3 separate regions of the Homo sapiens genome follow, and regions 1 and 2 are each linked to region 3. The links are contacts of gene promoters, found by promoter capture Hi-C in human tissues and cell types (Jung and others, 2019). All regions are on one chromosome and are shown on one strand. The core of a region is centred on a gene start or on the middle of the fragment in contact, and the rest is flanking DNA. Distances in the headings are between cores, read along the strand shown. Region 1 overlaps GAB2 (GRB2 associated binding protein 2). Region 2 overlaps GAB2 (GRB2 associated binding protein 2). Region 3 holds the start of NARS2 (asparaginyl-tRNA synthetase 2, mitochondrial).

The links. Contacts are between HindIII fragments. The study calls those that stand out against the background at their distance.
Region 1: a fragment that was not itself captured here is called in contact with the fragment with the promoter of NARS2 in region 3 in 1 of the 25 tissues and cell types used here (aorta).
Region 2: a contact is called between a fragment that was not itself captured here and the fragment with the promoter of NARS2 in region 3, in 1 of the 25 tissues and cell types used here (heart left ventricle).

What each region holds. Positions count from the first base shown.
Region 1 is chr11:78,314,981-78,317,680 of GRCh38, reverse strand. The region is part of intron 1 of GAB2 (GRB2 associated binding protein 2); the gene reads left to right. All of the region lies in intron 2 of LOC105369402 (a long non-coding RNA gene), which reads right to left. Among named protein-coding and RNA genes, the nearest start is that of GAB2, 100 kb to the left of the region's middle. The HindIII fragment of the contact is 3,914 bases long and covers 1-2,700 here.
Region 2 is chr11:78,282,657-78,285,356 of GRCh38, reverse strand. The region is part of intron 1 of GAB2 (GRB2 associated binding protein 2); the gene reads left to right. Among named protein-coding and RNA genes, the nearest start is that of USP35, 95 kb to the right of the region's middle. The HindIII fragment of the contact is 4,493 bases long and covers 1-2,700 here.
Region 3 is chr11:78,573,505-78,576,204 of GRCh38, reverse strand. It overlaps NARS2 (asparaginyl-tRNA synthetase 2, mitochondrial), which reads left to right and starts at 1,341. Exons shown (of 14, transcript NM_024678.6): 1 at 1,341-1,857. The coding sequence starts at 1,717. RefSeq lists enhancers at 1,046-1,185, 1,846-1,955. The HindIII fragment of the contact is 12,241 bases long and covers 1-2,700 here.

The DNA of each region.
Region 1 (2,700 bases), core at 115-2,614, 260 kb after region 3:
TTTGCTGAATGCTTAATATATGTTACTTTTTAAAAAAATTATTTCTTCTTTTGATTGTGATAAAATACACATAACATAAAGTTTACCATCATAATCATCTTTTTTTTTTTTTTTTTTTTTTTGAGACGGAGTCTCGCACTGTTGCCAGGCTGGAGTGCAGTGGCGCCATCTCAGCTCACTGCAACCTCCGCCTCCCAGGTTCAAGCGATTATCCCGATTCAGCCTCCCGAGTGGCTGGGACTACAGCTGCCCGCCACCACACCCAGCTAATTTTTGTATTTTTAGTAGAGATGGGGTATCACCATGTTGGCCAGAATGGTCTCAATCTCTTAACTTACGATCTGTCCACCTTGGCTCCCAAAGTGCTGGGATTACAGGCGTGAGCCACTGTGCCCGGCCCATCGTAATCACTTTTAAGTGTATAGTTCAGTGACATTAAATGCATTCATATTGCTGTGCAGCCATTACCACCATCCATCTCCAAAACTCCTTTCAGCTTCCCAAACTGAAACTATACCCATTAGACATTGATGCCCTATTCCTCCGGTGGCCTAATAACCACTGTTGTATTTTTTGTCTCTCTGAATCTGGCTACTCTAGGCTTGCCATGTAACTTTGTCATATAAGTGGAATCACATGGTATTTTCTAACTGCTTATTTCACTTAGCTTAATGCCCTTAAGGTTCATCCCTGCTGTAGCATGTGTCAGAATTTCCTTCCTTTTTAAGGCTGAATAGTATTCCATTGTATGCATGTACTGTGTTTTATATCTCCATTCATCCACCAGTGACATGTGGGTAGCTTCCACCTTTTGGCTCTTCTGACTAATGCTGCAATGAACATAGGTGTAAAAATATTCCGTTTGTGTTCCTGCTTTCAGTTTTTTGGGGTCTGTATCCAAAAGTAGAATTACTGGATCATATGGTAATTCTATTTTCAATTTTTTGAGGAATTGCCTTACTCTCTTCTATAGCAGCTGCACTATTTTATATCCCCACCAACATTGCACAAGGGTTCCAGTTTCTCCATATTCTCACCAACACTTATTTCTATTTTTTAAAGTAGCCATATTAATAGGTGCAAGGTAGTATTTCATTGTTTTGATTTGCATTTCCCCAATGATTAGTGACATGAGCATCTTTTCATGTGCTTCTTGGTCATTTTGTATCCCTTCTTTGGAGAGATGTCTATTCAAGTCCTTTGTCAATTTTTAGTTAAGTTGTTTGTTTTTGTTGTTATTGTAGTTCTTTATATATTCTAGTTATTAACCCCTTATAATCCTGTACTAGTCAGTGTTCTCCAGAGGGACAGAACTAATAATATGTATATATGAAAGGGAGTTTATACATATTTCATAATATGTATATTATGAAAGTAAAGAATTGGCTCACACAGTTATAATGCAAAGTCCCACAATAGGCCATCTGGAAGCTGGGGAAGAGAGAAGCCGGTAGTGGCTCAGTTTGGGTCTGAAAGCCTCAAAACCAGGGAAAACAACAGTGCAGCCTTTAAGTCAGTCCCAAAGGCAGGACACCCACCCCCTGGCCCCCCGTGCAAGTCCCAGTGTCAGGCCAAAGAACCTGAAGTCTGATGTCCAAGGGCAGGAGGAGCGGGAGGAAGCATCCAATATGGCAGGGGGAGGGGGAGTGGGGAGAAGGAAGCCAGAAGCCTCAGCAAGCAAGCTTATTCCACCTTCTTCCGCTTGCTTTCTTCTGGCCATGCTGACAGGCAGTAGGATGGTGCCCAACCATATTAAGGGTGACTCTTCCTTTCTCAGTACACTGACTCAAATGTCAACCTCCTCTGGCAGCACCTTCACAGATAAACCCAGAAACAGTACTTCGCCAGCCATCTAGGCATCCTTCAATCCAATCAAGTTGACACCTAATATTAACCATCACAAATCCTTTACCAGATATATGATTTGCAAATATTTTCTTCCATTCAGTGGATTGTCTTTTCACTTGGTTGATTGTGTCCTTTGATTCACTAAAGTTTTAATTTTGATGTCCAATTTATCTATTTTTTGTTTTGCTACCTATACCTTTGGTGTCACATCCAAGAAAACATTGTCAAATCCATTGTCATGAAACATTTTTTCTATGTTTTCTTCTGAGAGGTTTATCATTTTCATTCTTATATTTAGGTCTTTGGTCCATTTTGAGTTAATTTTTGTATATGGTATAAGGGTCCAGCTGTTTTTTTACATGTGGATATCCAGTTTTCCCAGCACCATTTGCTGAAAAGTTCTGTTATTTCTTTTGTATTTGTGTGATAGTCCTAGGATGTGTTATAATTACCTTATAGATGAGAAAACAGAAGGTGAAATATTCCTGAGGATCCCCTAAAAGCAGGCTTCTTGCTATCCTTGGCAGTTCAAAGACATTAAAAAGGGGGGAAAGCCATTTTGAAATAATGCGAGAAGAAGAGGGGAATAGACTGAGAGGAAAAGCAAAACAAAATAAAATAAGATTGGGATAGACAGCCAGCCGTGAGCAGAACTTTGAAGTGTGTTTATAATTCACTCAGAGACCTCCTCCCCCCTGCCCTTTTACTCTCCTTCCTTCTCTTACTCTCTCAATTAGCTCCTTCAGTTTGCTGTCTCTTCTGAAACTCTTTGAAAGCTTTTCTACAGTCTGTGTCCAGCCTGTTTTCTGAGCTTTATCTGCTGTCTCCCTCGCTGCCACTGTGAAGCTGTAA
Region 2 (2,700 bases), core at 33-2,532, 290 kb after region 3:
CCTACACCACTTACTTGGAAGCAAAACCTGACAGGCTCTGATATTATCTGTAGCAAACATGGTTTTCTTGTTCATGAGGGTGTCTGTGTTTTTTGTGCTTGCACCTGCATACCAGAGATTTGGGGACAGCTCTTTCCACAGAGACAAGACTAACGGGGACACATCAACTGAAATGCCAGCTGAACTAGAAACAGATCTTTTTAAAATGCACCTTGGTGCCCACACACTATGTGTCTATGTGTGAACCTGCAGCACACAGAAGTACATGCATAATTCTGAAAGCAGTGACCGGGTTAAGATTTTAAATTACTATAAATAAATAGTACTTATTTTTATTTTTCTCAGCTCCATCCTATCTGGCTATACCTCAATTTTCATTTCAGTCTAAGGCTTATTGGGCACCAGTTATGTCTCCTTTGACCTGCTAGATAATAGAAGGATTTCATGCAAGAAAATGATTCATTAATTATATATATATTGATTACTAGCTATGTGCCAGGCAATATTCTAAACACCAAGGATGCATCATGGAATAAAAAGAACCAATCCTTGTCCTGGAGGAGTTTACTTTCTGGGAGGTGGGTGCGGAAAAGTCATAAAAATTGATATCTTTTGGGGGTATACATGCTTTGTGAGACCAGTAAAGCAGGGTAAGGGGGGAAAGAGAGTGGGAGCATCGGGGACCAGGAATAGCCTGTCCAGTAATGTGACATTTGAATAAGGACTAGAAAAAAAGATTAAGCAATGGAAATATCTGGGGGAGGAGTGTTCCAGGGCCAGGAAACAACTAGACTAAAGACCGTGAGGCAGGAGCACGCCTGGCACTGTGTAAGGCCACGTGGCCAGAGCAGAATAGGCAAGGCAGAGGGCAGCAGGAGCTGAGGTGAGGGGTGGGATGAGGCTCAGTCCCATCAGGCCTGTAGGCCATTGTGGGGACTTTGGCTTTACTCTGAGTGAGATGAACAGCCATTGCAGATGGTGAGCGGAGAAGTGGCATCTTCTGATTTACTTCCTGCTTTCTTACTTTGCGGTTGAGGATAGACTGCAGGATGAAAGGGTGGAAGCAGGAAGACTACAAAATGGTGGACTAGACCAGGTGAGCAACAGTGGAGGTGAGGAGAAGCAAGCTCATTGTTGATATATTCTGAACTGTCTGAACTGACAGGATTTGCTTTTGGGTTAGATGTAGAGTATGAAAGGAGTCAGCTATGATACATAGATTTTTGGTCTGACAACTGGAAGGCTGAAGGTGCTGGTAAATGAGATGGGAGAGAGTGCAGGAAGAACAGATCTGGGAGATATCAGGACCTCAGTTTTGAACACATTAATGTTGAGATACCTACTAGTGAGGAGTTGGATATACAACTCTAGGGCTAGAGATATAAATTTGGGAATCACAGCAATTCGATGGTTTTTTAAAGCTGTGAAACTGAATAAAATGACCTAGAGAGTGGGTGTAGAAAAAAAAAAAAGAATCTCAGAACTGAGCATTGGGGCATTCTAATGTTCGGATGTCAGGGAGGTGAAGAGGAGCCAGCACTGGAGACTGAAAAAGAGAGGCCCGGTAGATAGAAGGAGAGTTGAGAGTGCATGCTGAAGCCAGGTGAAGAAAGTGTTTCAAAGAGGATGGAATAATAAACTGTTGTCAGATGTTGGAGAGAGATCAAGAGAGATCAAGTTAAGGCCCATGAGTTGATTTATCAGCACTGAAGTCTTTGACACCTTTGATGAGCTATTTCAGTGGTGCAGTTGGGGTGGTGGGGGGATGGGGGATAGCCTGATTATAGTGCCTTCGAATAGGAGGGGAGGAAACAAAGATTAGTAGTATATAATACTCTTTGAAGTATCACTATAAAGAGAAGTAGAAAAACTGGGCCATAGTTGGTGAAGAATTGTGGGATCAAGTCAAACTTTTAATTTTTTCTTCTGAGATAGGAAACGTTGATGTCTTGATGGGAATCATCCTAGTCAGGAGGAAAAATGCAACGATTCTGAAGAAGGGGAGAATTGTTGAAGTGATGTCTTTGTGCACAAATGGAAAAAGGTTGGCCTTCATTGGGTGGACTGTCTATGCTCCCTAGTAACAGAGCTCACAGCTACAGGTGCAGGCAGGATGGTAAATGTAGTCATGGAACATGTGTAAATTTTCTTTTGATTGTTTGTGTTTTCTCATGAAATAAGATATAAAAGAGTGGAGGCATTGGAGGTTTAAAGAGAGAGGCCAAGAGATTGTTGCCAAAGAACAGGAGAAAGTCATTGACTAGGTAAATATAGTAGGATTGTTGGGCAACATGAGGGGCCACTTGAAGTAAAAGTGAGACCAGTCAGCATGGTCATATGATTTTCTCCATGTATGTACAGCCAAGTGGGAACAGGTAGAGTTGGCAGAGCATTAGACTTAGCTGGGGTTTGCTGGGTAAATAAGAGGAATGGAGAAAGAAGCAAGGGAATAATTATGATAATGGATCGCAGAAATAGAGTTGGATAAGGAAAGAAAAGAGGACAGGGATGAAAGGTGAGAGTGAAAAGATGGTAGAATTAATGGAGTGTAGATCCCATGGGGTCTAAAGAATTGTGATAATCAAATCCTTGACATTTGTAGTGCTTCAGGGTGTATACAAAGTGCTTTGGGCTCACATAATAACCCTATGGGGTAGGTAGGGAAAATGGTGGTGGTGGTAGTGATTTTCATATAGATGA
Region 3 (2,700 bases), core at 92-2,591:
AACACATTTATATTATATAAAATATAAAATTGTGATACATGTATATATTATAATTGTATTATATTTTATCCAATATAATATTTGGATAAAATATCAAAAATAATTTTTTGGATAAATTTAAGAGGTAGCCTAATATATAAGGGTGACTTTTCAGTCCAAACAAATGCAGACAACTCATACATCTATGTGTGCACTTACTGGTTTATATTTCAGTAGTCTCTTTTCTTGCTTGTCTCCATCTCTAAAGCATGAGCTCCTTGATGGAACAGATCACCTTGGGACACTATGTAATACAGCATACTGCTTAAGTGCATAGAGCCAGCACTTCTGGGTTTAAATCTCACACTTAGGGAATGTGTATCCTTAAGTAGGTCATCTAGCCTTTCTGTGCGTAAGTTCTCTCATTTGTAAAATGGGTATAATAATAGTAGCAACTTTAAGTAAGGTAAAAGTGAGAGAGAGAGAGTGAGAGTGAGAGGGAGCGGGAGAGAGACAGCGAGGGCGAGCGCTGGTCTTGAACTCCTGGGCTGAAGCAATCCTCCTGCTTCTGCCTCCCTAAGAGTTGGGATTACAGGCGTGAGCCACCGCACTTGGCCAAACGTTTTACTTTTTAAATTAGATTAAAAACCTTTTAATGACCGTCATTGAGTTACAGAATTTTTTTTTTAATAAAACGTAGCCTAATATATAAAAGGGTCATTGTTTCCAGGTCAAACAAATGCAGATAGCTGTGTTGGAGGGCAGAGGGAAGAGGGAGACTTGGAGGATTCTGGCAGGAAACACTCGAGTTTCCTCCAGTCTCTGCAACATCTTCCCACCGTCTTGCCTGCCATATGCAAGGTCCCTCCAGTTCCTTTTATTTACCTGTCAGAGGACTACTTTCTCCAGGAAGCCATCTCTGGCGTCCCACGCTTAGGCTCTGTCAGGCAAACTGATCGCCCTTTTATGCAACTGTCTGTTTAGCTGTCTGATACCACACAACTGTGACTTGCGCATTGGGGCTATGTCTGATTTTTCTCTGCGGAGTACTCAGGAAAGGAACGACTGATCTCTTCAAGCGAATCCTGTTAACAGCTAAGAGCCTCCTCTTACTTGGATCCCTATTGTTGACTGATGGAGACGGTTTCCCTCTCCATCAGTCACTCCTTGCCTCTCAGTTTCTCAGCCTCACCTGGAAACTTTAGAAATGAAGACCCTCAGATGTGCTCCCACGTTCTTTCAGCGATAATCTCTACAACCTTAGGGCATTAGCTCCGCCCCGTCTCGGCTCCTGACCCCGCCCCCTCCCGCACGCCTCCCTAAGCCTGGGTCACAAGTACGCATGCTCTCCCTTCTTCCCCGTAGCGTGATGACGTAAGCGGCGTTGGCGTGGTGTGGTAGGAGTGGTTGCGCGTGTTGCGGCCCGGGTTCTGTTCGTAGGTTTACAATTGTCGCGGGTAGTGGGGCGCCCCAGCTGCCAACTGCACGTGGTTTCTTTCTGGCGTTTGCCTAGTGTCCTGTCCATTCCGCCCCGTTGGGAAGTGGGAAGCGGAGAGGTTCTGTGGGGACAGAGCTGGGAGTCCTGAAGGAGAAAGCGCGCAGCCGAGGGGCTCTGGAGTGCCTTAGAGCAGAGCTGCGGCCGCGGAAGGGGAGCAGCTGAGAAAGGAGGGCCGCTGCAGGCGGGGTTCGAACCGTGGGGTCTGGGCTGCTCCCGCGGAGGGCCTGGGCGGACGCGGGATGCTGGGGGTCCGCTGCCTGCTGCGGTCCGTGCGCTTCTGTTCCTCCGCCCCCTTCCCCAAGCACAAACCTTCAGCCAAACTGAGCGTGCGGGACGCTCTCGGGGCTCAGAACGCGAGTGGGGAGCGCATTAAGATCCAGGTTGGTGAATGGGAAGGGAGTGGGTTTTTTCTTGTAGGGACTTTTATATGGCACATCCACATCTAGCTTTTCTTTTACAGTCGGGTCAGACACAACCGCCAGCAGGGAAAAGTTAGAAAGTGTAGGCGTCGCGGGTTTGCACTTTTCTGATTTCCATTACTTTTCACAAAACTGTTCCGATAACTGTAAAGCGCTGGAACTTTGCTTTCATGATTCCAGGGTATTACCTGTAAACTTGTTAATCATACCAAAAGTGTAAATGAACAAGCCCCCTTTCTCTATCTTTATCCCTTATAATGAATATCCAGGTTTATAAAGTGGTTGTCTTGACCTCCCTCCTTGAGAGCAGAAACCGTGTCTTACCTGCCTTTGTATTCACACATGGCTGACAGCAAATACTTGTTCAAACCATGCCTTTTAAACTTTTAGCGACCTCAGTGCCTATTGTGGGGGTCTGCATGTAATTTATTTTTAATGAATTCGGAGAAAGACTGGAATGTAGCAGTTTGAAAGAGCTCTGGAGTTAAGCTGCTTAGGTTTAAATCTCTGCATAGCGTTTATGCGTTCTACACCTTATTTTCCTCTTATGGAAAGAGATAATAATTGTCCCTGAGTCCTGAAAATTAAATGAGGTAATGGAAGTAAGATATTTAGAACAGTGGCTCATAGTCTACAAATGTTAGCTGCTATTGTTTCTCTTGCTGATTATATTATTTGCAGCAGCTCCACATAGAAGAGGTGCAGAATAAACAAGGTGTTTGACTGTTTCTTATTAGGTTGCTGAAGTACACTGATGTGGTTATTTATTTTTTGAGACAGGGTCTAGCTCTGTCACCCAGACTG